Linked DNA regions of Homo sapiens: regions 1, 2, 3 and 4 are each linked to region 5. Evidence: promoter capture Hi-C in 16 types of primary human blood cells and fetal thymus (Javierre and others, 2016). All regions are on one chromosome and are shown on one strand. The core of a region is centred on a gene start or on the middle of the fragment in contact, and the rest is flanking DNA. Distances in the headings are between cores, read along the strand shown. Region 1 holds the start of RNF114 (ring finger protein 114). Region 2 holds the start of PEDS1 (plasmanylethanolamine desaturase 1). Region 3 holds the start of SNAI1 (snail family transcriptional repressor 1). Region 4 holds the start of SLC9A8 (solute carrier family 9 member A8). Region 5 holds the start of PARD6B (par-6 family cell polarity regulator beta).

Region 1 (5,257 bases), core at 435-2,934, 800 kb after region 5:
TTACACGACTTATTAGTTCATTCAACCATTACCTGATCACTCACCCCACGCACAGAGGTGTGATCCCTGAAATACCCTCCCACTTGCAGAATGAATTTTTACAATAGTTTGACCAGTCATTGGTACTTATTTATAATCAATTCACTGGACTGTAAACTCTGAAGGCAGAGTCTACCCCAAAATCTGGCACACAGAGGCCATTCCAGTCAGTTCAGGGGCAATAAAGATATGGCCACTCCGTCATGAGCTGTTAAGTTTTGCTCTGTGCAAGCAAGGAGAAGGAAGTTAAGTCCCAGAAAGGAAGTGGGGGAAGTAATTTAGATGGGGATGGTATTTGGTGAGGTAACTTAACCTGGGACTTGAAGCCTGAAAAGGGAGGGGTGGGGGGAAGAGTTCCAGGCTAACCGAATTGCAAAGATGAATAGCCTAAAGCAACATGATGAAGCAAAAAGCAGCCAGCTAGGTGCCAAGCACTGTTCTCTGGACTACTGAAATGGTCACCTGCAGTACATCTGGGAAGAGCTAGGCCACGGTGACCCTTCCCTAAGAGAGCCTCGGACCCTCAGTGTATTCACCTGTAAAATGGCTGCCAACCCTCCCCCGCTGCAGGGTGGCTATAGAATAATGCCCATGGAGTGCAATGGCTACTGTGCCCGCTGCCAAGACCAATGCCAAGGTGATCCCACGATAAGCACTGAGAGGGGCCAGAGGAAAAGCCAATTCTGAGGCAAGAAGCAGGTGGCCACGTTGTCTACAATTCTTTCAACTCAGATGTGTTTGTGCGTCTGATGGAACAAGGCTTAGATTCAAATCGACCAACCTGACCAACCTCGAAAGCCCCGGCCACAGCCCAGGACCTGGACTGGACATTTATACACATATCTGCTTTAATCATTATAACCACTCTATTCACAATATTCAGGTCATGAAGGCTTAATTGAAAACTGAAAGAAACAAACCTCCTACACAGGAAGTAGAATGCTAACAATCCCATCTGCCAACTCCCACCCCCCTTTCACAGCTAAGGGCAAACTGGCCAGATCCCCATAAAGACTTCCCTTTTGTTGTTTTAGTCTAGTTCAGCGTTTCTCCCGACTTTAGTGCACAGTAGAATAACTCGCCACAGCTAGACACGACGCCAAATGTCCTATGCTTTAAGAGCGACGTGGACTAGAAAGGAAACGTCGGCTCTCCAAGGGCGGACTTCGGAGCCTAAAGTCCCCGCAGGGCACGAGTCCACTATCACGTGTGGGAAGGAGACTGACAGGCCGCCTGGAACATCGCAGGCGCTCAACAGACAGCAGCTGCCCCGCTAAGACGGGCGGAGGAACGGGATACTTAGGAGTGAGCGGGGCGGGACAGAAGAGCGCCCCGGCAGCTTTCACGGCCCTTAGGAGCCCCGGGGGACACCCCCGGGAGGCCCCTCTGGGTGGGTCCTCTGGCTCCCGCCCTGAGACCCATCTCGCTCCTCGGCTCCATTCCCTTCCCAGTTAAGCGCCCCCCGACCAGGCCCGGGCTCGCCGCTTACACGTGTCCGCAGGGCACCTGTACCGGCTTCTCGTACACCTCTAAGCACACGGGACACGTGAAGCGTCCTAGGGGGTCAGCCTCCGCCGCCGGCCCCGCCAGCTGCGCAGCACCCCCGCAGTCCCGCTGTTGCGCCGCCATCTTGCTGCCGCTCTGCGCCGCGCAACGGCGGCCGATGAGGAGGAGGCCGAGGGGGCGGGGCTCGCGGGGCGGTGAGCGGTTGGGGGCGGGGCTAGCGGGTGGGCCGCCCCTCGGGGCCCCTCTGACGCAAGCGAGCTAGAGGCCGAGGGAAATCTGGAAAACGTGGAAGCCAAATCCAAAGGCTGCCAGAATTGGGACGGGCTCTGCGCGTGGGCCGCTGTTTTCCAAATTTATCGTTAGTTCGGCACCACTTGCACTATCACTATTTATCTTCGAATCAAGTTGCTTTTTCCTTAAATTTATTTATTTATTTATTTAATCTATTTTGGGACAAGGTCTTGCTTTGTCGCCCAGGCTGGTGTTCAGTGGCGCGCGCGATCATGGCTCCCTGCAGCCTCGACCACCGGGGTTCAAGCGATCCTCCCACCTCAGCCTCCTGCGTAGCTGGACCACAGGCAGTCACCACCATGCCGGACTAATTTATTTATTTTTGTATTTTTTGTAGAGACGGGGAAAGGAGGGGGGGAAGGAGTGGTGCAGAGAGCGGGCGGGTCTCACTGTGTTGCCGAGGCTGGCCTCGAACTCTTGGACGCAAGCAATCCGCCTGCCTCGGCAACCCGAAGTGCTGGGATTACAGCGGTGAGCCACAGTACCCAGCCATTTCTTAAATTTAAGCAAATTCTAATAACAGATCTAATTCCTGAGCTGCAAGAAGAAAATCAATATCATTTATTTATACAAAGGAGCTGGGCAAGGTGGCTTACTTCTGTAATCTCAGCACTTTGGGAGGCCGAGGTGGGCGGATCGCTTGAGCCTAGGAGTACTAGAGCAGCCTGGCCAACATGGTGAAACCCCGTCTCTACTAACAATACTAAAATTAGCCAGGCGTGGTTGCCCATGCCTGTAGCCTCAGCTACTCAGGACGCTGAGGCAGGAAAAGCCTTTGACCTGGGAGGCGAAGGTTGCCGTGGGCCAAGATGGCTCACTCACTCCAACAGTCACTAAACTCCAGCCTGGGCAACAAGAACGAAACTCCGTCTGAAAAAAAAAAAAAAAAACAAAAACACAACCTGGCTAACACGGTGAAACCCTGTCTCTACTAAAAATACAAAAAATTAGCCGGGCGTGGTGGCGGGCGCCTGTAGTCCCAGCTACTCGGGAGGCTGAGGCAGGAGAATGGCTTGAACCTGGGAGGCGGAGCTTGCAGTGAGCCAAGATCTTGCCACTGCACTCCAGTCTGGGCGACAGCGCGAGACTCCCTCTCAAAAAACAACAACAACAACAACAAAACAAAACAAAAAAACCCCAACAACAAAGTACATTCATTTCATATTGTGCAATCATCACCATCAGCTATCTCTAAAATTCTGGTCTTCTTGCTAAACTGAAACTGAAATTCTGTCCCCATTAAACAATAACTTCCTCTTCCCTCCTCCCATCCCCATACCCCCAGGCCCTGGCAATTTTCTGTCTATGATTTTGAAGCACTTATAGCTATAAAATTTCCCCTGAGCACTGCTTTCACTGTGTCCAGTAAATTTTGGCATGCTGTGTTTTTGTTTTCATTTGTTTCTCAATATTTTCTCTATTTATTTAATTAATTTATTTATTTTGAGATGGAGTCTCACTCTGTCGCCCAGGCTGGAGTGCATTGGTGCAATCTCTGCTCGCTGCAGCCTCCCTCTCCTGGATTCAAGCAATTCCCTTGCCTCAGCCTCCCAAGTAGCTGGGATTACAGGTGCCTGCCACCACGCCTGGCTAATTTTTGTATTTTTAGTAGAGACAGGGTTTCACAATGTTGGCCAGGCTGGTCTCAAACGCCTGACCTCAAGTGATCCGCCAACCTCGGCCTCCCAAAATGCTGGGATTACAGGTGTGAGCCACCCAGCCTGGCCTGTTTCTGAGTATTTTCTAATTTCCCTTGTGATTTCTTCTTTGATCCATTGGTTCTTTTAAGAGTGTGTAAATTTCCACAAATTTGTGAATTTTCCAGTTTTCCTTTGATATTGATTTCTTTTTTTTTTTAACCCCCCCATATTGATTTCTAGCCTTATCCAATTGTGCTTGGAGAAGATATTTGGTATGATCTCTTTTATTTCTTCTTTCTTTCCTTCTTATCTTTCTCTCTTTCTCCTTTTCTTCTGTCTCTTTTTGTAGAGATGAAGTCTGGCTGTGTTGCCCAGGCTGGTTGCAAACTCCTGGGCACGAGCAATCCTCCTGCCTCAGCCTCCCAAAGTGCTGGGATTACAGGCCTAAGCCACCACAGCTGGCTGATGTCTACCTTTTAAAATCTCTTGAGGCTTAATCTGTGGCCTAACATATGGTCCATCCTGGAGGATATCCCATGTGTGCCTGAGAAGAATGTGGATGCTGTTGTTGCTGGGGAGTGTCTGTACATGTGTTAGACCTGGTTGTCTTACTGTGTCGCTCAAGTCCTTTATTTCCTTACTTGTCTCCTGTTTGTTCTATTTATTCTTGGGAGTGGGGCATTGAAGTCTCTAACTATTATTGTGGAATTGTCTATTTCTTCCTTCAATTCTACCAATTTTTGCTTCATATGTTCTGATGGTCTGTTATTAGGTATATAAATGTTTATAATTGTTATATCTTCTTGCTGTATTGAACTTTTTATTAACATACAATGCCTTCTTTATCTCTTGTAACCTTTTGGACAAGTAATTTTTCTTTTTTCTTTTTTTGAGACAGGGTCTTGCTCTGTCGTCCAGGCTGGAGTGCAGTGGTGTGATCTCAGCTCACGGCAACCTCTGTCTCCTGGGTTCAGGTGATTCTCCTGTTTCAGCCTCCTGAGTAGCTGAGACTACAGGCATGCACGACCACGCCTGGCTAATTTTTGTATTTTTAGTAGAGACAGGATTTCACCATATTTTTTAGGCTGGTCTCAAACTCCTGACCTCAGGTGATGCACCCGCCTCGGCCTCCCAAAGTGCTAGGATTACAGGTGTGAGCTACCGTGCCCGGCCTGGACAAGTAATTTTTCTGATATTAGTATTGCCAGCCCTCCTCTTCTTTGGTCACGCAAAAAGATATTTGCATGAAATATCTTTTTCCATCCTTTCAGAACCAGTCTATAAAGTGAGTTTCTTATAGAGAGCAATACAGTTGAATCATGTTCTTTAAAAAAAAAAAAAAAAAAAGCTGGGTATGGCGGCTCATGCCTGTAATCTCAGCAGGAGGAGGCTGAGGCGGGTGGATCACCTGAGGTTAGGAGTTCAAGACCAGCCTGACCAACATGGTGAAACCCTGTTTCTACTAAAAATACAAAAATTAACCGGGCCTGGTGGTGCATGCCTGTAGTCCCAGCTACTTGGGAGGCTGAGGCAGGAGAATCGCTTGAACCTAGGAGGCAGAGGTTGCAGTGAGTGGAGAACGAGCCACTGGACTCCAGCCTGGGCAACAAGAGTGAAACTCAGTCTCAAAAAAAATTTCTTTTAAATTAATTTTTTTTTTTTTTGAGACAGAGTCTCGCTCTGTTGCCCAGGCTGGAGTGCAGTAGCACAATCTCGGCTCACTGCAAGCTCCGCCTCCTGGGTTCACGCCATTCTCCTGCCTCAACCTCCTGAGTAGCTGG
Region 2 (5,265 bases), core at 549-3,048, 580 kb after region 5:
TCAGAGAACCTGGATTCTGGAAGGGGATCTTACCTTCCCTCTCTGCTCCCCCAGCACCTTTCAGGACCTTCCACAGCCTCTAGGGAGGCTCCTATGTGATCTCACTGTATGGATTTTTTTTTTTTTTGAGACCAAGTCTCACTCTTGTCACCCAGGTTGGAGTGCAGTGGCGCCATCTCGGCTCACTGCAACCTCCACCTCCCAGGTTCAAGTGATTCTCCTGCCTCAGCCTTCCAAGTATCTGGGATAAGTAGCTTGCCTAATTTTTGTATTTTTAGTAGAGACAAGGTTTTACCATGTTGTCCAGGCTGGTCTCAAACTCCTGGCCTTAGGTGATCCACTGGCCTCGGCCTCCCAAAGTGCTGGGATTACAGGCCTGAGCCACCGCGTCCAGCCTGTATGGAATTTTTTTTTTTTTTTTTTGAGACGGAGTCTCCCTCTGTCGCCCAGGCTGGAGTGCAGTGGCGCGATCTCGGCTCACTGCAAGCTCCGCCTCCCGGGTTCACGCCATTCTCCTGTCTCAGCCTCCCGAGTAGCTGGGACTACAGGCGCCCGCCACCGCGCCCAGCTAATTTTTTGTATTTTTAGTAGAGACGGGGTTTCACCGTGTTAGCCAGGATGGTCTCGATCTCCTGACCTCATGATCCGCCCGCCTTGGCCTCCCAAAGTGCTGGGATTACCGGCGTGAGCCACCGCGCCCGGCTGCCTGTATGGAATTTCTATGAGAAATTATTGCATACTTTGTTGTCGGTTAGACCTGGGGTAAATCCCTGCTGCTGTCATTTATCTGCCGAAGTATTAGACGCATCTGGCTGAGCCTTAATTCATTCATCAAGCATTTATTGAGCTTCTACCATGTTCCAGCCCCGATCCTGGCACGGGGGCCCTGCTGTAAACAAAGCTGTTCTCTGCCCTCAGGAGCTTGCTCTCTGATAGGAGAGACAGGGACTGCAAGCTCAATCCCCACCAGAAGCGCTGTGAAGACAAAACAGGGTGATGTCACAGTGACTGGAGGAGGGGGCACCTTTGAGCAGGGTGGTGGTGGTGGGGCTCTCTGAGGAGGCAATACCATTGGTGTTTAAGAGTCAAATAAATGTTGCTCGTCTAGCTCTTGGTCCAGCACCTGACAGATATTAAGCGCTCAGCAAATCTCATAGTGACCCTAGTTGTCATTTTCATTAGTTTACTGTCCTCGCCACCGGGAGAACATGAGCTGGGGAGGATGCGGGGCAGGCTCGACGTTTCTCCTCTTTGGGCGCACAGCACAGAGCTGGCACACAGCTGATGAACACATGGCACCCGAAACCTCTGCACACAGTAGGGCTTGATAAACCAGCCCACTCTCCATCGGCCTCGCTAGGGAGCATCGTACAGAGCACCCGCCAAATGCTTCCTGGCCTCGGCCCCAGCCCGGCGCCCTGCCCTCGCGTTCCTTGCACACAGTGGGCGCTTAACGCTGCCGGCTCAAGAAATGCCCATTTCTGGGCCCTGCCTCGGCCCATTGCATGGGCCCGTGAACCGAAGCCTAGCTGGGCGGCGACGCGCCGCGAGCTCCCAGTGGGCTGGAGCCGGGAGCCCTGCCGGGGCTGAGCTGGGAAGGCGGGCACGCGCCTCCGCCCCAAGCTTCCGCGCCCAGCTGCGTCCAGCTGCGTCCCAGCCTCCGGCTCGCGGCGGTTGGCTGCGGCTCAGCGACGTCCGATTGGCCTGCGCGGCTCCGGCGCGAGCCCCGATTGGCTGTGACGCGCGGCCGGGCGAGGACCCCGCCCGCGCCGCCGCCGCGCCCGGCGCTGGGCGGTCATTGGGCGGCGTGATCTCGCCGCGGTTCCGCGGCCCTGCCGCCGCCGCCGCCAGCAGAGCGCACCGGGCCGATCGGGCGAGTGGCCATGGCGGGCGCCGAGAACTGGCCGGGCCAGCAGCTGGAGCTGGACGAGGACGAGGCGTCTTGTTGCCGCTGGGGCGCGCAGCACGCCGGGGCCCGCGAGCTGGCTGCGCTCTACTCGCCAGGTAAGACCTCTGGGCCCCCCTCCAGGCCTGCGGTCACCAGCCCCGGCTGCGGACAGCGACCCCAGACTGGAGTCCCAACCTCGGGCCCAGATGCGGAACTCCAGCCCGGGTGTCTAACTTGCAAATAGCAAGTTCGGGGACCCCACCCCAGTGTCCCTTCCGAACCCAAGCCAGAACCTTGGCCCCGGGGTTTCCTGGCTGCAGAGACACTCCCCAGATCAAGAAATTACCATGAGCTCCCTGGGCGACAAACGGAGCTCCCATCGGACCCGCAGATACGGAATCCTAGCCCCGGGGCATTCTCGGTTGTGAAGAGTGCTCCTAGACTTAGAACCCCACCCCCTCATCCCCCCAGGACCCGGTCCAAGCCCAAAGCTGCCCTTCAGCTGTAAGCACTGCCCTCAGGCCCCTAAAAGTCACACCTCATCCTGGGTTCCCCAGATCTGGAATCTACATCCTAGTACCTCCTCTGTGCCCTAGCCCAGGCCCTGGGCTGCAAACAATGACCTCACCTCCCTAACCTGGGAATGTCAGCCCCTCTGCCCAGGGAACCCTAACTCAGGGGCTTCCAGCTGCACGGTACCCCCCACACCCTTCCCCCAAAACCCCATCCTAGTGATAGCTTCAGTGGCTACAGACCGATATCCTCTCCCCAACCCTCCAGTGGTGAGCATCAGTCCTTGCCCCATATTCCTGGATCCCAGGCAGTGAGGGGACTGAATGTACCCCACTGTAAGCTCCCCTGTACATAAGCCCCAACTCTAGCTCTTGCCCCTCCCTCACATCCATGTATTGGCCCCTTCCTTAGGACTTGGGACTGGAACCCCCATATTCCCCAGACCAGATCATAAGTTGGAGTTCACCTCTCCCTCTCTGTCCCTTTCCCTCAGGCCACGGTTTCTCCCTAGCTTCTTCCTGCTTTGCTCACTGTATATGCTCCAGCAAGCACCCCCCCTACACCCACTTTTGTGACTCCTACGTGAGCCCTAGGAATTTTACTGTTTGGCCTCAGGAGGGCCCTATATCCCCAGGAGTTAAGGAAGTGCCTTTGAGAACTCCTGGTTCAGGTGACTGGGAGGCACCTCTACCTGGGTGTCACCATGGAATGAAGCTTTGTTTGTCAAATATCCTGACATCCTTCCTTTTTCTGTGGGGCAGCCACCAAGCACCACATGCAGCCCTTGCCTGGAGTGGGCCTGGGGTCACTAGCACCTTAGCTTTCTGCCCTCACTGGCCTGGGTTCCATGCCGTCTCTTCCTTAAAAGGCGGCATGGCCACGGACCATTTGCATTTCCTCACTGGGTCCTAGACCACTCCATTCTCTGTATGTGATTTTTCACACCTGACTTGGGCACCTGGTCCATGCCGCTATGGTTTCTTCAGGCCTATACCCAAGACACCCAGCCTATGGACTTAAAACCTCCTGCTCTCCTGGGGGTAGGCCAGGGTTAACATCCTGACTCTGTTATTCAGCTGTATGACCTGGTCCAAGCCACTTTCCGTCTCTGTTTCCCCTTGGTTTCCTTGCAAGTTAAAGTTTATCTGCCCCTTCGTGTTAGGAAGTGGAAATGAGATCGTCCACTGGCATTCAGTAGGCACTCCCTGTTGTTGTGTGGGTTTTTTTGTTGTTTTTTGTTTTGTTTTGTTTTATTTGTTTTGAGATGGAGTCTCACTCTGTTGCCCAGGCTGGAGTGCAGTGGCGTGATCTCGGCTCACTGCAAGCTCCTCCTCCCGGGTTCACGCCATTCTCCTGCCTCAGCCTCCTGAGTAGCTGGGACTACAGGCGCCCGCCACCATGCCCGGCTAATTTTCTGTATTTTCAGTAGAGATGGGGTTTCACTGTGTTAGCCAGGGTGGTCTCGATCTCTTGACCTTGTGATCCGCCCACCTCGGCCTCCCACAGTGCTGGGATTACAGGCGTGAGCCACTGTGCCTGGCGCCTCCCTGTTGTTAACAGTAGTCTGACCTTTGCTGTGGGGGATCCGCCTCACCTCTCTGGTCCTCAAACTCCCCACCTGGGAATTGGGGATAAGGATTCAAGGGCCTCCCTCTTTAGTGTCCAGCTCTGCCTGCTCCTGTGAACCCTACCTACTTTCAGACAGCCCAAATCATTCCCAGGCATTCTGAGCCTCCCCAGGGATTGCTGTTTCCCCACTCCACCACGATCAATTGCATATTTGTCCATTTCTGGTTTCCCCAAGTGCCCTTCACTCTCTGAAGAACAGCCATGCCTGAATCAGAGTCTGCAGACAGCCTGGTGCCCCAAATCTGCAATCAAGGCCCTTTATCTCCTCCAGACCTGGAGGTAGGGGAGGAGACTTGCCAAACTGGTTTCTCCAACTTCCTTTCCACTGGCCTCTCTGCTTCTATCTGCTCACTGTGTGATCTTGGGGAAGTATTTGACCTCTCTGGGCCTGAAAAAGTGAGAGACCAGGCTCAGTGCATATTGAACACCTATGTTCTAGTCCATGTTCTAGGCTCTGGGGGCAGAATGGTGAACAAGACAGAAAAAAATGGAGCTGGCCGGGCGCGGTGGCTCACACCCGTAATCCTAGCACTTTGGGAGGCCGAGGTGGGTGGATCACTTGAGGTCAGGAGTTCGAGACCAGCCTGGCCAACATGGCGAAACCCCGACTCTACTAAAAATACAGAAATTAGCTGGGCATGGTGGCAGGCCCCTGTAATCCCACCTACTCAGGAGGCTGAGGCAGGATAATCTCTTGAACCCAGGAGGCGGAGGTTGTTGCAGTGAGCCAATACCACACCACTGCATTCCAGCCTGGATGACAGAGCGAGACTCTGTCTCAAAAAAAAAGAAAAAGAAAAAAACGGAGCTGGCATTTTAGTAAATAGCCGGGCCATAAACTTGACAAATAACTGTCTCACGTGCCCAGTGGTGGCAAGCGCTGTGGAGCAAATACATAGCAGGAGAGGGGGATCTGAAATGTTGGGGACAGGAATGACATTTTAGGGAGGGGGCAGTGAAGGCTTCCCTGAGCAGGTGACATTCGAAGTGAGGCCTGAAGGGAGGAAGGACTGGAGGGAGGGAGCCTTGAGGATATTTGAAGAAGGGTTGGTCCAGACCAGGGAAACAACAAATGCAGAGACCCTGAGGTGGGAGCTTGCCAGGCATGTTTAGGGAATATGGAGGACACATGTAGGCTGGAGGGAAGAGTAGAAGAAGTTCCTGGGTTCTAGGAGCAGAATGTTTGAGATTACTGGGGCTGGAGGTGGTTTGGCACTGTGACAGTTGACAGCCAT
Region 3 (5,318 bases), core at 1,096-3,595, 750 kb after region 5:
CCAGGAAATGGCAGAACCTGGCCAGCTTGAACCCTGTGGAATCTTCTCCCTCAACTGTCACTCTCCAAAGAGCAGCTCCAGGCACAGTGGCTGCCACCATTCAAGTTCTAAAAAGTTCTACCTTTTCTCCATGTCCAGAAAGTTTTTTACACATTTAGTAAATTTTCAAAAGACGTGATTGTGTTTTCTGCCCCAAAGATGCCGTTTCCTGGTCTGTGTGCTAGGATTCAGTGGGGGTGGGGAAGCCGACCTGAGAACCGTTCGGGTATAATAAATTACTATAAAGTGATTAGCCACCTTTACAGCCACTCTCTAAAACATATGCTATCATAGTTTTCCCCTAAGGCTCAGAGAGGTTAAGTTGCTTGCCCAAAGTCACACAGCAAGGAAGCAGAGCAAATGCCAAGGAACCATTTTTGTGAGAGTTTAGCAGGTACCGGCACTTTGCCAGGTGCTTCCCATATGCATTCCTGCATTTAGCCTGTATAGAAACCCCAAAAGCTGTTCTCATGCCCATCTGAAAGATAGAGAAAATGAGGCTCACAGAAGAGAAACATCAGCCTAAGTTTTGAGAAAGTTCTCAAAGAAGGATTCAGAGCCAGGCGGGGGGTCTGACAACATCCTGTCTGGCTAGGGAGGGGGCGGACCCGGGAGAGGGTGTGGCCGGGTGGGCCCCTTCACACCTGGCCCCCACAGCAAGGTGTTGGTTGCACCTTTCCCATATCCAGCTCCGACCCATTTGGCTGAGAAACAGGCTGCAGGGGATTGGGAAGGTGTCTGCTTTGCCCATCTGCTTAGCTGATGAAGAAAGTTTCTGCCAAACGTTTCCAGAGAGCCAGGCCCTGGAACTTGAGCTAGAAGTTAGAAGACTCGGGGCCTCAGTGTCCACAGCTTTGGGAATGAGAACAGCAAGCCCAGATTCACAAAAGCTGCCAGAGAGAGCAACGGTGGGGGCGCCTGGAGGGGCACGTACCAGTGTGGGTCCGGACATGGCCTTGTAGCAGCCAGGGCCTAGAGAAGGCCTTCCCGCAGGTTCCGCAGACGCAGGGCAGCGTGTGGCTTCGGATGTGCATCTTGAGGGCACCCAGGCTGAGGTATTCCTTGTTGCAGTATTTGCAGTTGAAGGCCTTTCGAGCCTGGAGATCCTTGGCCTCAGAGAGCTGGGCCAGCTGCTTGGGCACTTGGCCCAAGCCTGGGAAGGCAGCATAGGCCTCGGCCTCCAAGGAAGAGACTGAAGTAGAGGAGAAGGACGAAGGAGCCGGTGAGGGTGGGCTGGGGGGCTGGGAGCCTTTCCCACTGTCCTCATCTGACAGGGAGGTCAGCTCTGCCACCCTGGGACTCTCCTGGAGCCGAAGGGAGGCCCAGGCAATTGGCTGGGCTTGGGGCGCCAGGACAGAGTCCCAGATGAGCATTGGCAGCGAGGCGGTGGGGTTGAGGATCTCCGGAGGTGGGATGGCTGCCAGCAGGTGGGCCTGGTCGTAGGGCTGCTGGAAGGTAAACTCTGAGGGAGAAAAAGCAGAGTCAGGCGTTAATTAAATCATTCACTCAATCAACAAACATGAGCCCACCGCTGGCCAGGGGCTGGGTGGGGCCGATTCTCAATACATAATTAGATCAAAAAAATTATCCACAGGACAGACCAGGTTCCTGCCCTCCTCGCCCAGGTCACCCAATCTGAGTCTCTCACACGTAGGACCCCCAGTTGAAGGAGGTCATTTCCTGATCTCCCTCTCCTAAGTCCCCAGTCTCCAGCCTGAGGCCAGAACCCCATCATCCCAGCCCCGGAGCCACCACCCTGCCCCAATCCCCCTCCTCACACACATCTCGTCTCCCCACCCCTCCCCTCAACCCTCTGGACTCCGGACTCTCCCCAGCAGCGTCCAGAGGGCCCTCCTGACACAGGCCTCCTCTCCTTCCCCTCTTGCGGAGCTCCTCCGCCTCTCGCCGGCTACAAAGGCCCCCCAAGCTGAAGACCCCTGCCCTCTACACGGCACTCCCCCAACCACCCAGACAGATCCCCGGAACTGGGGACCCACTTGCCCGGTCTCCCGAGCCCGCAATGGTCCACAAAACATCCTGTGACTCGATCCTGGCTCAGGCAGGCCGCCTCCCTCAGGTGCCCCCCACGCAGCCTTCGCCTGTCTCCCCCAAACCTCCTGGAGCCCAGAACCCCTCCAACGCACCTGGATTAGAGTCCTGCAGCTCGCTGTAGTTAGGCTTCCGATTGGGGTCGGAGGGCTTCCTGACGAGGAAAGAGCGCGGCATAGTGGTCGAGGCACTGGGGTCGCCGATTCGCGCAGCAGTAGCGCAGAAGAACCACTCGCTAGGCCGTGCCGCGGCGCAATGAATGCAGCAGCGCCGCCAACTCCCTTAAGTACTCCGGGGGGGTGGTGGGGGGTGGGAGGGGCGGGGCCTTATCTGCCACGCCCCTTTGTCACCTCCGCGCCAATCGGAGGCTCGTCTCCGCCGAAGGCCACTCCCCGAGCAGGTGCGCCGGCTGCTGGCCGGGCTCGCGCCGCGTGGCGGTGAGAGCCCGGGCGGGGACTCCTCCGAGGCGGGGTTCGCTGGCGCAGCGCGGGTCGTCCCCGGTGCTGGGGCTGTCCGGGGCGGGACGTCGAGCGAAGCGAGGCCTCTGCGAGGTGGGACCCCGGCAGGACGCCGCGCGCCCACCGGCTCAGCGCCCGGTGGTCTGAGCGCTTCTGACGCCCCCTGGCGCTGCGCGCCGGCCGGGACACCTGACCTTCCGACGCCCGCCCCCGCCTCGGGCTTGGGAGGGGGCGGAAATTTCCTCCGCCCGGCTGGCGCCTGGAGAGCGTGGCATTGACGAGGGAAACGCACATCACTGGGGAGGAAGCGAGGAAAGGGACACCGCACGTGGCTCTCGGCGGCTTGAAATGCCACGGCCTTTTTGCAAAGCAGCCTGGCCCAGCTAGCCAAGAGCACCCGTTCCTTCCCTTATCCAGTGTTTACGGAGCGCCCAGCACGTGTGGGGCACTGTACCTGGGGCCAGGGCACAGCCCCGGACAGAACACTCAGAGCCTCTCCCGAAGGGTAGCTTCTGGTCCAGTGAGGGAGACAGACGAAGTAAACAGATAATTACAATGCAAAGGGAAGTGTGCTTTGGTGGGGGAGAGACGGGACGCGGCGACCGTTAAGAGGCGGGTCACCTGACAGGGGGTCGGGGTGACTTCCCAGAGGAAGTGAAGAATTATCAAGGGAAAAGGCCCGAGGGAAGAAGTGGCAACTGCTTCAGAGTAACTCCTAGAGAGCAGCTTCCAGGGATGGGGTGGGATGGGCATGCCCGGAGGGGTCAGATGTGCTGGGCCCCAGGGCCTCGTAGGAGTTTGGACTTTGCCTCAAGGGCACTGGGGAGCCACCGAAGGATTTTCAGCTGAGGAGGGACCTGGTTAGAGTTTCGTTGAAAAAGATCCCTGTAGGCTGGCGGGAGAAAGAAGGCATGGGCCGGGCGTGTCTCCTCACCCCGTGAAGATCCTCGATCCTGTGTCTAAAGGCTGTAACACGGCTCCATAGGGGCCCTGACTGAATGCATGTGGGGTGGGCCCAAGTGAGGGGCAGCTGCACCCCCACCCCAGCTTCCCTGGGAGGCGTACCAGGCCCGGGGGTGGCTCTGAAATAAACCTCACAGGTCTCACCGTTCTTGTTTCCACCTGTGAAGGAAGACTATAAAAACCTATAAGCACCCCACACCACCACCACCACCAACCTGAAGGGCAGAACTACTGTCTGTTTAGTCACTTGGTGCCGGGTGTGACAGCCGTGAACAAAATCGTCCTCCCCTGGTTCTAGCTGGAGAGCGGGCAGTAGGGTGGGGGACAGAGGCAGTAAGCAGTCATTAAGCGGAATACTCCCCGTCCCGTGTCAATTTAGCTCCAATCAGGATCCTTTGCTTGAAGCCAAAGTGAGGCCAGATCACCCCCTCCTCTGCTCAAACCCTCCCATGCGCCTGTCTCAGAGTAAAAGCCAAAGTCCTCTCCTCAGCCAACTCGGCCCCGCTGCTCTGACCCCAGCTGACATTGGCTTGAGCCTCTCTCCCTCCCCCATGCACAAGGATCCCACCCCCAGCCTTCCTTCTGTTCCTCCAACATCCCAGACCTTTCCCACCTTGGCACCTGCTGCTCTTCCTCCTCTCCCCTACGTCTCTTGCTCCTAGATCTTCACGCTGGCTTCCTTTCATTCTTTGTTTCAGCAGCAACTTCACTAACTGCTCAGCCTCGTTTAGTGAAGAGAGAAATGGCAAATTCAAGCCACAGTGAGCTGCCATTTCACGCCCATCAGAAGGACAACAAGGAAAAATTTGGTCACTATCAAGAGTTGATGAGGAGGTGAGAGCTGGCGAGAGGGTCGGTGGGCATAGTCACTTTGGAAAAGTTTGGCATCAGCTAGCAACAGGTGACTCCTCTCCCTGTCTGTCCTCAAGCCAACTGCATCCCAGGGGCTGCAGCTGACAAGTCTGTCCTCAAACCAACTGCATCCCAGGGGTTCTCAGCTCTGGCAGCACATTAGATCCCCACAGGGAAGGATTAAAACACCTAAGCCTCGGCCCACCCCACCCCCACCCACATCTTGATTTAATTAGTCTGGGTGGGGCCTCTGGCATCAGCATTTTAAAAAACTCCCCTGGGGATTATAATGAGCAACCAAGCAAAGTAAAGAACTGTTGTCCAGCCCAAACCCCGAAAAAACAAAAAAGGATATTCATTGTACCCTCGTTCCTAATAGCAAAAAAAGCAAAAACTAAAACAAAACTGGATACAACACAAATGTTTATAAACAGTAGACTGGATTAATGAACCCTGGTGCAATCCTGTAATAGAATACTATACAGCAATAAAAATGAACTACAACTCCATGCAGCAACAGGGATGAATCTCAAAAACACAATGTCGAGCAGAGGTCACAAACAAATGCATAGTTATTTGGATTTATACGAGGTTCTGAAGCAGGCAAATGAAACCCTATATTATTTAGGGATGTATGTGGGGGTTGTAGAATTAGAAAGAAAAGCAAGGAAGTGGTTTTTTGTTTTGTTTTTGAGACGGGGTCTTGCTCTGTCACCCAGGCTGGAGTGCAGTGGCACAATCACGGCTCACTGCCGCCTGGAACTCCTGAGCTCAGCCTGCCAAAGTGCTGGGATTACAGGGGTGAGCCACTATGCCGGCTGCAAGGAGATGTTTGATACAAAATTCTGAAGAGTGGCTGGTGAGGAGGGGAGGCAAGAACAGGCTGCACATGAAGCTTCTAGAATTTTGGTAATGATCTGTTTCCTAGGCAGGGAGGGATCTTTATTGTTAGTCTTT
Region 4 (5,248 bases), core at 2,582-5,081, 920 kb after region 5:
TTTCTTTTTTGTCTGTTTGTTTGTTTGTTTTTTGAGATGGAGGCACACTGGGAGGCATTTAAGTTTTTGTCTTTTATCTAAACCTCTCGACTGGTATCTGGTAACCTGGTTATCAGTCTCTAGTCTTATATCAGCCTGGTATGACAACCACCTGACTTCTCTATGCTGAAATTTCCTCACACACTAAAAGAGAAGGTTGAACAAAATTAGTTTTTTGGTTTTTTTTGTTTTTTTTTTTTAAGACAGTGTCTCACTCTGTCGCCCAGGCTACAGTACAGTGGCACGATCTTGGCTCACCGCAGCCTCCGCCTCCCAGGTTCAAGCAATTCTCCTGCCTCAGCCTCCTGAGTAGCGGGGATTACAGGCACATACCACCACGCCCAGCTAATTTTTGTAATTTCAGTAGAGACAGGGTTTCACCATGTTGGCCAGGCTGGTCTGGAACTCCTGACCTCAAGTGATCCATCTGCCTTGGCCTCCCAAAGTGTTGGTATTACCAGCATGAGCCACCAAACTCGGCCCAAAATGAGGTTTTCAGAGAGTGAATGCATTTAATCAAAAATAGTACATAACTAAATTAACAATACAGGTGGTACATAGATATGGCAAAAGTCATGACCATGGTTAATGAGAATGACAGAGGTTAAGGAAAACAGGGTGCTGGGGCAAGGGTTTCTGCTCTTTCAATCAGCAGCAAAACCATTAAATAAAATTCACATGGAAGTCAAATAAATATGAACACAAAATGCTGCTCTGATTGAAGCCAGGAGCAGGGGGTCAGATATTCTCCCATCTGACTCCTCCCACCTCCTGCCACCCCACCCCCTGCTCCTTCATCCCCTGCACAGGTGCATACTCCTTTGAGTAGAACTTGAAATCCATTAAACTAGATGTTCAAGATTCTTTTTTTTTTTTCCAGACAGTCTTACTCTGTCATCCAGGCTGGAGTGCAGCGGCGTGATCTCGGCTCACTGCAACCTCTGCCTCTCAGGTTCAAGTGATTCTCGTGCCTCAGCCTCCTGAGTAGCTGTGATTACAGGCATACACCACTACGCCTAGCTAATTTTTGTATTTTTAGTGAAGACAGAGTTTCACCATGTTGGCCAGGCTGGTCTTGAACTCCTAACCTCAAGTGATCCACCCAAGTCTCCCAAAGTGCTGAGATGTCAGGCTTGAGCCACCGCGCCAGGCCTCAAGATTCTTTCTAGGCCAAAATTTTTTTAATCCTTCTTTCAAAGGCCAAGATATTACATCAACAGCTCTTCAGAACTTGCTAAGCACCATGATTTTATAAAGAAGAGAGTTTCCTGTTAATGATGTTATAAACTGATCATGTTCCCTCAGTGTTTGATATGAAAACCAAATGGGAGGAAGACTTGACAGTCAAGAGGAGTGACAGGGTTAAACACACAGACCGAGCACACAGACACGGGATGGCAGATGATGGGGATGACAGTGTCCATATTCACCTAGGACAAGGAGGCTGAAGAAAATGGTCATGCCGCTGGACTGCTCCTCTTGCTGGGCCTGCTCCCCTGTCTGCACGGGGAGGATGGGCTTGCCAGGGGTCGGGAGCACCAGTTTCGTCGTGACAACCAGGGTGGTGTGGAGGGTGACATTGAAACCCTCATGAGTTGTATTGGGGAACCTCCTGGAGGACATAGAAAGCATAATTAGATAATGGAAAAGGGTCCCAAAACATCAATTCACACACCTCACACCAGAAAGAGAAGCTGTCCAAGAACTTTATGGGATTCAGAAGTCTTTAACAGGCAGGCCTTCGAGAGAAACTTACTAAGAAAATCCCTGCCTGCACAGCACAAGGGTACCAGTGGCCTCTGGTGCTTTTGAATACAGCCACTTAGAGGACAAGAACGGTAGGGAATCAGAGCTAGTATAGAAATGAAATGCTGCCTGCTCTTTGGCAAATACTGGGGGATTTAAAGGGAGGCAAACTGGAGTCTCATCACTTTCCAAGGTCCAACACTGTTTACTTAGCACCTTTGTTTCTCCAATTTACATTATTTTCCTGGCATTATTTCTGCAAGTTGAAGAAGCCACCTCAATTTGCCCAGTTGTTGATCTGGGCATGCCCTACCCTACTTTACAAAATCCCTCTCAGATTTCAAACGGCTCAAATGTCACCTCCTATTACCCCATCTTACCACACCCGAATTTACCCACTCCACTGCGTATGTTCCCACAGCTCTTTCACACTGTGCTGGGATTGTGAACTAGTACAATATTGCTATAATAACTGTTACTGTGACTACAAAAGTTATTATTTTCTGAGCACTGCTTTATTCCAGGAACTAGGTAACACACTACCTCTCATTTAATAGGTATAACATGTCTGATTGGGTATGATTACTTTCCGTTTTTTACTCATGCATAACTAAGGCTCAGGGAGGTTGCAAAACTTCACCAACATCTCAGTTAGTGGCAGAATCAAGCTGAAAACCCAAACTTGAAATCGCTGGGCTATATTGCCTCTTTTATTTTGTGCTGCTGAGGCTGTTTAGTGTCTGGGATGGAGCAGCTGCTCAATAAATAACTGATTACATGAAATGACCCCCACATGGCCAAGAAATATATTTGAAAAGTTATCAGGTGAAGGACTCCAGTATCAATGAAGGGGTTCCTTATTCATCTTCACATACTCATTCCACAAACAGTGATAGGGCATCTACAATCTGCAACAGACTCTGCCCTGCAGGTATGGAGATGACTTTTGGACTTGCCCAAAAGTACCTGGAGGACACAGCCCGTCCTTCCCCATCTCCCCTTGTCCAGCTAACCCCCTTCCTCTCTACACACCAGCCATGCTGCCTGTCACTCAAAAGCACTAAACTCTTTCTTGAGCCAGGCCTTTTGAACCTGATGTTATTTCTCCTATCCCTCATTCTGGTCATTCAAGTTTCTGCTGAATGTCACTTTTTCCTGAGTGGACTCCCCAACCTTAACTCTATTTTGCTTCCTTCAGAACACTTAACCCATTCATGCCAGAGGTTGCAATTTTTAGAACTGCAGACGTGAGAAAAATCAGACCTTGGCGATGACCTTGAGCAGTAGGATATAAATAACTCCCACATGCTTAGCGTTCCAATAATGGAACACTAGGCACAAATAACGTTAATTAATCACGATCTGAAACCACCTTGACTAATTATGGTCTTCTTTTCCCACTAGAATGGAAGCTCCCAGAGAGCGGCTCCTGGTCGGCCTCCTTTCCTACCACCTGCCCAGGGCCTGGAATTGAGTAGATGGCTAACAGTTAATGACTAAATGAAACTTAGTGAAGGAGAAAGACATGAAAACTGATCGTTATACAGGAGGCGACTGGCTACGTAGGAGGTGGGTGTGGAGAACCCGGACGACTTCCTGGAGGAGGCGGAAGAGGGCTCAGTAACCATGAGATTACCGAAAACTGGGAAAGTAAATATGGTTTGTATTTTCCGCAAGACAGCTCTCCGGGCCTGCGCTGGGCAGTAGATTCCCAGCTCGAGGGACCGATCTCCAGGGGAAAGCAAGGCCCACCTGGGCCCAGGCCCGCCCATCCCGCCCTCCTCGTAGGCACCGGCTTGGTCAGTCCTGGCCAACCAGCAAAAGAAGCTCCGCCTTCCGGGGCCGGAGGGCGGCCTGAGGCGCTCGCTGTCACCCGCCGGGGCCCAGCCCCGCCGCCTCCGCCGCCCGGGAAAAAGCCCACTCACTCCTCTTCCGCCATCTTCTCCCCCATCCTGCGGAGCTTCCAGGACCACCGAGTTCGGAGCCGCGGGGCTAGCAGGACCCGCTTTTGCTTCCGGCTTCCGCTGGAGGCGCGGGCGGGCGAGCGGGAGGCGGGGCCTCGGCCGCGCGAGGGCGGCCCTCTGTCCCTCCGTCTCAGTGGCCCGAGGGTGGGAGAAAGCGCGTGGGAGGATTGCTTCTTAGTCTCTCCCGGGGCTTTCGGGACGCTTGTCCGGCCTGGGCCACATGACCACCTGGGACCGAGAGATTCCGGCTTTTCCCCATCACAGGGCGGGGACGTTTTGGGGAAACTCCTCTGAGGTCACTGTGACTCACCCTGAGGGCAAGCAAGCACCCTCCACCCAGTGCCCTCGACTTCGCTGTGCTAAAAGAGTTTGAAAAAGGATGCCCAGCCTGCAGCCTAAGCGGAGAGACCCCAGGGGGACACTTCCCCACCCGAGCCTTAGTTTCCTTCGGCTGTGGAGAGGAATAACCGCCTGGACTTGGCAGGACTGTGCAGCATTCCATCTGTAAACATGTGTTGAGTTCAGACTATATGCCTAGCGTTAAAAAGGATGCTGATGATCTAGGGGTGGACCATTCATTAAGGGGTTCATTGATTCACCACATGCTTAGTAGATGCTTCTATGTGCCTAGCAGTGACCGGTGGGGTGGGGATGCAGGGAGGAACAAGGTGAGGTGAGAGGGGTAGGTGAGACCCCCATCGGGAGGACTGGGGCTGAGGACTTTGAACTTTATTGGCCGCTTCTGTTGCTACCTCCCTTCCTGATCCAAGGCACTCTATCTCATCTGGATAATTGCAACGGCTCCATTCAGGGTCTCTGACTCACCCCTGTTCCTTACGGACTTCCACACAGCAGCTTAACTCATCACTCCTCTGCTTAGACCCTCCAATGGCTTCCAATCTCCAGAGAAAAAAAAAACGTGGGGAATGTACAGGACTCAATCCTGCCCCCTTTTCCCCTCTGAAGTGTGTGGGAGGGGGGCATGGGGCTCTATATCTCCCCTCCCACACACTTTGACTTTCCACTATTGTCCCAGACTCACCAGGAATACTTCCACCGTTGCACTTACTGAGCCTTTATCTAGAATGCTCTTCTTCTGGGTAGCTCTTTGGCTCCCACCTCTCCTACGTTTGGCCTTTTATTTAACCCTTATCTTGTGTGTTAGACCTCCTTGACCACCCTACTTAAAATCCAAGGCCCCCCGCCTTCCCTAAACTATTTTTCCACATGACACCTAACCTACCATATGTTTTACTCATACACTTGTTTGTTAACCATCTCCCTCCATGAGAACGGAAGCTTCATGAATGCAGAAATTTTTGTCTGTTTTGTTCTCCATTTTATCTGCAATGCCTACAACAGTACCTGGCACATAGTAGACACTCAATAATAAATAATCATTGAGTAAATAAATCAGTTAATTCTAGCACACCTAGAAGGGTTTTGAACTGAGAAGTAACCTAAGCTTTGCTGCCTGTTGGGAGTTGACTGGGGATTGG
Region 5 (5,350 bases), core at 1,809-4,308:
CTGTAGTCCCAGTACTTTGAGAGGTAGAGACGGGCGGATCACTAGAGCTCAGGTGTTCAAGATCAGACTGGGCAACATGGAGAGACCCCATCTCTACAAAATAAATAAATAAATAAATAAATAAATAAGCTGGGTGTAGTGGTGCACGCCTGTAGTCTTGCTACTCAGGAGGCTGAAATCGGAGAATCGCTTGAGCTCAGGAGGTTGAGGCTGCAGTGAGCCGTGATCGTGCCATTGTACTCCAGCCCGGGTGACAGAGCAAGATCCTGTCTCAAAAAAAAAAGGACCGGCACACTACCTAGTTTTGGTTATAAACTCTTAGCAATCAGTTTTGTAAAAAGCTGTGGTATCACTAAAGCAATGTCAAAGAAAATACTGTTTCAAAAACCCTTCCAAATATTTTTTAAATGGTTAAGGTGACAAATGTTTCAATCTACTGAAAATAAATGTATCAGCAATATATATTTGAAACATATAAGGTGTCATAGACATACTAGAAACACTCACTACCTATATCTTGCCTATTTGTCAACAGCTAGAATAGTGGGACCGACTTCATTCAGCACATGTTCCTAGAATCAGTGTATGATTCTATTTAAAAGACACAGTTAGCTGAAAGTGCAGTATGGCAGTTCAAATATACAACATGTAGTTTAGACAGAAGTAAGTGAAAGATTCACAAATCAGTTGACAAGAGAAAGGCAAAAAGCCTGAAATTCCAGTTTTAAAGCACTCAAGGTTTCTTAGTACTAGAGATAAATTACTATTTGATTGTATTTATCAGTATACTTAGAATTCCTACTCATTTTTTTCTGTGGAAAAAAATTAAAGACTTGCTACCAAGATTAGGGCTATAAACTTAAAATTTTAAGATTATGCAATATCACAAGTGTTTTTCTTTCCATAACCTCAACTCCCACAAATCCAAACTAAACTTATAACAAAAATGCCATAAGAAGGTTCAACCACTGGGCATGGAACCTCTACTGCCACCATACCGCTAAAGGAAAAGTTCTGCTATGTATTTTGGGTCATCTTAACGCTATAGCTCAAGCAAGTCACTTCAATTTGCTATGCTGTGCACAGAGGACACATGGACATGCACATTCCTTAAATTGCTGTAACTACACGTCTTTTCTTACTAATTCTGAAACTAGTGCCAATCCTCATGTAAGTGCCAAGCCGTTTTTGTTTTTGTTTTGTTTTGTTTTTTGAGATGGAGTTTTGCTCTTGTTGCCCAGGCTGGAGTGCAATGGTGCAAACTTGGCTCACTGCAACCTCCACCTCCCGGATTCAAGCGATTCTCCTGCCTCAGCCTCTCAAGTAGCTGGGATTACAGGCATGTGCCACCACGGCCGGCTAAAAATTTTTTGTATTTTTAGTAGAGATGGGGTTTCATCATGTTGGCCAGGCTGGTCTGGCACTCCTGACCTCAGGTGATCCACCCGCCTCGGCCTCCCAAAGTGCTGGGGTTACAGGCGTGAGCCACCGCGCCCAGACTCAAATCACATTTTTTAATGATGTTACAAACGAATGTCGATTTTCTCGATGTGATTCTCAGTTACAGAAACTTACAGAACTTTGCTTATCAACCCTAGACAATAAAACTATTCTACCTAGAGGCTCTAGGAAGCTTTCCTTACTCCACTGTACCTCACTCAAATCACTCCTTGATTTTACATACTCCTTAGTAGTCTTACCATCTATGATGCTCCATTACTTTTTTTTTTTGAAATTGATATACTTTCAATTTTCTCCTTTTCTGTGTTTTGGCCTTCTCAATTCTATTTTAAATGTTCTCAGGGCCCAGCCAGTGTCCTGTTTTGTATTCTGCAATGTCTAGAAGTTATTAAAAAGGCATGAAGGCTTTGCAAAAAAACAGCTTGAGGAAGTCATAACCTTTCTAAGCCTCAGTCTTCTCAGAGAATTGGGCTAGATTATCTAAGCTCCTTTTAACTCTTCAACTCAAGAAACGCTTGCTGAAAGTGTTCCCTTGGCTGCCGATCACCTTCAAATTCCAGCTCAAAACCCCCTTTGGAAGGCATTCCCTAACTAATCCCTCCCTACAGACTACCCTGCTCACTGAGCCTTGAGATTTAGAAATTCAGTGAATACCGAAGTAATTATCAGCAGATTGGCATACCGTTGGTCAAGGGGAAAAGCACTTGATGTGAGTAGGTAGCAGGATGGAATGAAAAGAGCATCTAGAGTCAAACTGTAAAGTGCTACTCCAACGTAAGGTGATAGTACTAATTTTACAGATTAAATGCATACCAAAGTTAGTGCTAGAAAGAGCGCCAGCAGGAAGCAAAGCGAACTTTTAAAGGGCTGTTTAGTTCACTGGGCTCTCTCCTTCGCCACTCGATGCGCCCCTTAACCACAGAAAGTGGGAACAACGGGGTGGTCCAGGGCCCTTTACTCACAGCCCAGCAGGCAGGATTCTCCTACACCTTTTGAGCAGCCTCGCATTTCACTCAGTGTGCGCCATCCTTGGATATACCTTGGCCCCTACTCCCGTCCGTGAACACGGGAATGAGATTTACGGAATGAGATTAAATGCTGGACTAGGTCTTCTTCCTGCCCGGGCCAGGGGCGGACACTAGCGCCCCCTGACCCCCGCCACCCCCTCCTCGGCAAGTTTATTACCCACAGTCTCCCGACCGCACCGTCCAGACCCCGGGGCAGCTCAGCCCGTCGCCTCCCCCGGCGCTCCGAGCCTGGCCCGGCCTCTCCCAGGCCCCGGCCCCCCAGGCCCGCCGCTCCGCCCAGCCCGGGCCCCGCGCACCTTGCTCTTCACCTCCATAGTGCCCAGGCAGCCGCTGCCCGCCCCGTGCCGGTGGCTGCGGTTCATGCTGAACGCCGAGCCCCGCGACGGCCTCCTCCGGCCGGGCGGCCCCTCAGGAGCGCGGGGAGCGAGTGCGCGACTGGGGATCTCGGAAAGCGGTTGCGGCCCGGGCGCCTCCTCACAGGCACCTGCAGAGGGGGCGGCCGCAGCTCCGGCGTCCGCGCTGAGCTCCACTCCACCAGCTGCTCACACGGCGGGACCGAGGGTCGGACTGGTGGCGCGGCAGGCGGGGAAGCAGCTCCCTCCCTCCGGGCCCCGGCGGCGACGGCGACAGCGCTGGAGGAGAGGAGGGGGCGGAGCGGAGGCCACAAGCGCCGCAACCTCTCCCTCTGCCGCCTCCCCCGCGAGCCCGCGCGCGCGCACCCGAGCGGACCACAGCCGCGGCGCGTGCGCGCGCTCACCTGCAGCCCCCGAAGATGCCGCAATCCCTCGCGTTCCGCCCACACCCAATAGAAAGCGCGCACCTGCGCCCGCGGCGCCAACCAATCGATACACGCCTCGCGCGGTGCGTGGGCGGGCTGCCTCCTCAAAACCCCGCCTACCACCGCACGATTGGTCCTGCGCTACGAGGGAGGGGCGGGATCACCTGAAGCCATGGCCCTCCGCCCCGCTTCAGGCCGGAGAGCCAGAAGGCGCATGCGCGGGTGCTGGAGTTTCCGCCCCGGGAAGGCACGCGGGGAGGCCGGCCGGAAGCGCGAGCGCACCTGAAGAAGGGCTCGGCTGGGTGGGCCTTTTGCGCACGCGCGAGCGCGCGCCTGGTTGCCCGGCTCCGCCGGGGCTCGCGCCGCTTAGCGCGCGCCAGTCACACGCACGGTCCAGGGGATTGGATGCGCCGCCCGTCCGGTTGCCGAGGCGCTGCGGGGCTATTCGGTTCCAGCCGGGCCCCCTTCCCGCTTCCACTTTGGGATGCTGCAGCCCCCAACGACGCCCCTCCACCGCCCCTTATCGTTGCTTAGGCGTCCCGCTGCAACTCTTGGTTGCAAAATTCAAGTTTTCCCGCCTCTGCAGCGGTTGCTGGGGGAGAAGCTTAGGGCTCTCTTGGCTTCATTTTGTCCGAAGAGACTCTGCACGCCTTAAGTCCGTCAGGTCGAGAGGGAAGGAAAGTGGGCTGAGGCGCGGGAAGGCTCCTTGCAGGCCCAGCCTCCCTGAGGATTTCTAGTCCAGTCTTTCAGGGCTTTTTTTTTTTTTCTTTAAAAGTCTTCCTTTTCCCTCCTCCCGCCATTCCTTGGCCATTCGCTGTTTCTACAAATGACAGCCTCTAGGTTGTGTTCGTTTCCCGGAGTGACCAAGCTGTGTCCCAGAGCAACAAAACGCTGAATCCTCCTCTCTGAACGTCCCAGAGCCCGGCCTCTCTTCACACAGACCCTGTGGGTCATGGGGAGGAGAGGAGAAGACTGAAGCTTTTGGCTGGAGGAGATTCCCAGGTCCCAAGGTCTCCCTGTGGGACCCGGGAATCCAAGAGCTGTTGAAACCTGCAAGCCAGGAAGGGGGCAGGGGAATGGAGGTGGAGGGGAAGGTCCAACCTGAGATTTGGCAAGAAGAGTGGTTAGGGTACCTTCCTCCCCTCATCTCCCTGCCCACCTCGGAGGCCTCCTAACACTTGTACCCCTGTTGCCCAGCACTTGTTACAAGTTACAGGTTTCCCATTTTTGTGTGCATCTGAGTTTTGTGAGTAATCTGCCACCAGCCTAGAATGAAAGCTCCCGAAGGCGCAGGGACGGCTTGTGCTTTGCTGGCATTGAGTGGCACAGAACCCGACTCCCAGCGGGTACTCAGATGGGTCTTTGCTGGGTGCTGCCACTGAGGGTGTCCCTTCTGCAGGCTCTTTGCCCCACTTGGGTTCAAAGGCGAGAAGCTCATTTTTTTCCCTCTGGAGGATTCAGGTAACCAGACGTTTTGTGGGAGGATTTAAGGTTTTTCTGGCCACCTGTGGCAGCACAGGTGGAAAGGACACCAATCCAAGCTGTATAATAAATAAGCAAGCTGCCTCCACCCCCTGTTTGAAAGCACATAGGAGGTGACTCAAGTTCAGCCGGAAATAAAGTGCATGTCAGGGCCTGTAACTCCCCTGTTTGGACTAGCACAGCAGTTCCCAACCTTTTTGTTTTCAAGACCCCTTTACACTATTAAAAATCATGGAGGACCCCAAAGTACTTTGTTTATGTGTAATGTCTTTCAATATTTATCTTAGAATTAAAACGGATGTGTCCAAAACATGGGAGTACACAAGCATGCATTCCAACAGTCATCAGAGTGATGATGTCATCACATGTCTTGTCCCTTCTGGAAAACTCCATTGTATACTCGTGAGACAATGGGAATGATGAGAACAAATGACATCTTAGTTTTGTGAAAGCAGTTTTGGCCTTGCAGAGACCCCCGTAAAGGGGTCTCAGGGACTCCCAGAGACCACACTCTGATCATGGCTGGACTAGATACCATGTCACCACCTTTAGAGAGCTCCGTTCTTAGGTCTCCTCCTCCTCTCCCTGATTGGCAAGGCCA

The links. Contacts are between HindIII fragments. The CHiCAGO score rates a contact against its expected background, and 5 or more counts as called.
Region 1: a contact is called between the fragment with the promoter of RNF114 here and the fragment with the promoter of PARD6B in region 5, in 13 of 17 cell types (neutrophils, total CD4 T cells, fetal thymus and 10 more). The highest score is 26.9, in neutrophils.
Region 2: the fragment with the promoter of PEDS1 here is called in contact with the fragment with the promoter of PARD6B in region 5 in 8 of 17 cell types (fetal thymus, non-activated CD4 T cells, total B cells and 5 more); the score reaches 11.0 in fetal thymus.
Region 3: a contact is called between the fragment with the promoter of SNAI1 here and the fragment with the promoter of PARD6B in region 5, in 1 of 17 cell types (fetal thymus). The highest score is 6.0, in fetal thymus.
Region 4: the fragment with the promoter of SLC9A8 here is called in contact with the fragment with the promoter of PARD6B in region 5 in 3 of 17 cell types (non-activated CD4 T cells, fetal thymus and naive CD8 T cells); the score reaches 12.1 in non-activated CD4 T cells.

What each region holds. Positions count from the first base shown.
Region 1 is chr20:49,932,824-49,938,080 of GRCh38, reverse strand. It overlaps RNF114 (ring finger protein 114), which reads right to left and starts at 1,684. Exons shown (of 6, transcript NM_018683.4): 1 at 1,529-1,684. The coding sequence starts at 1,668. RefSeq lists silencers at 315-609, 895-1,189, 1,648-1,837, 2,404-2,483, 3,922-4,122 and an enhancer at 1,430-2,035. The HindIII fragment of the contact is 14,536 bases long and covers 1-5,257 here.
Region 2 is chr20:50,150,256-50,155,520 of GRCh38, reverse strand. PEDS1 (plasmanylethanolamine desaturase 1) reads left to right here and starts at 1,798. Exons shown (of 6, transcript NM_199129.4): 1 at 1,798-2,004. The coding sequence starts at 1,884. It overlaps PEDS1-UBE2V1 (PEDS1-UBE2V1 readthrough), which reads left to right and starts at 1,798. Exons shown (of 8, transcript NM_199203.3): 1 at 1,798-2,004. The coding sequence starts at 1,884. RefSeq lists a silencer at 1,365-2,044. The HindIII fragment of the contact is 1,492 bases long and covers 1,626-3,117 here.
Region 3 is chr20:49,980,007-49,985,324 of GRCh38, reverse strand. SNAI1 (snail family transcriptional repressor 1) reads right to left here and starts at 2,345. Exons shown (of 3, transcript NM_005985.4): 1 at 2,184-2,345; 2 at 974-1,501. The coding sequence starts at 2,265. RefSeq lists a silencer at 2,331-2,850 and an enhancer at 3,003-3,940. The HindIII fragment of the contact is 8,892 bases long and covers 1-5,258 here.
Region 4 is chr20:49,811,411-49,816,658 of GRCh38, reverse strand. SLC9A8 (solute carrier family 9 member A8) reads right to left here and starts at 3,831. Exons shown (of 16, transcript NM_015266.3): 1 at 3,711-3,831; 2 at 1,470-1,651. The coding sequence starts at 3,736. RefSeq lists a silencer at 3,583-3,862 and an enhancer at 4,013-4,152. The HindIII fragment of the contact is 7,464 bases long and covers 1-5,050 here.
Region 5 is chr20:50,729,288-50,734,637 of GRCh38, reverse strand. PARD6B (par-6 family cell polarity regulator beta) reads right to left here and starts at 3,058. Exons shown (of 3, transcript NM_032521.3): 1 at 2,786-3,058. The coding sequence starts at 2,851. RefSeq lists silencers at 2,616-3,405, 3,506-3,715 and enhancers at 3,906-3,955, 4,908-5,350. The HindIII fragment of the contact is 2,238 bases long and covers 1,636-3,873 here.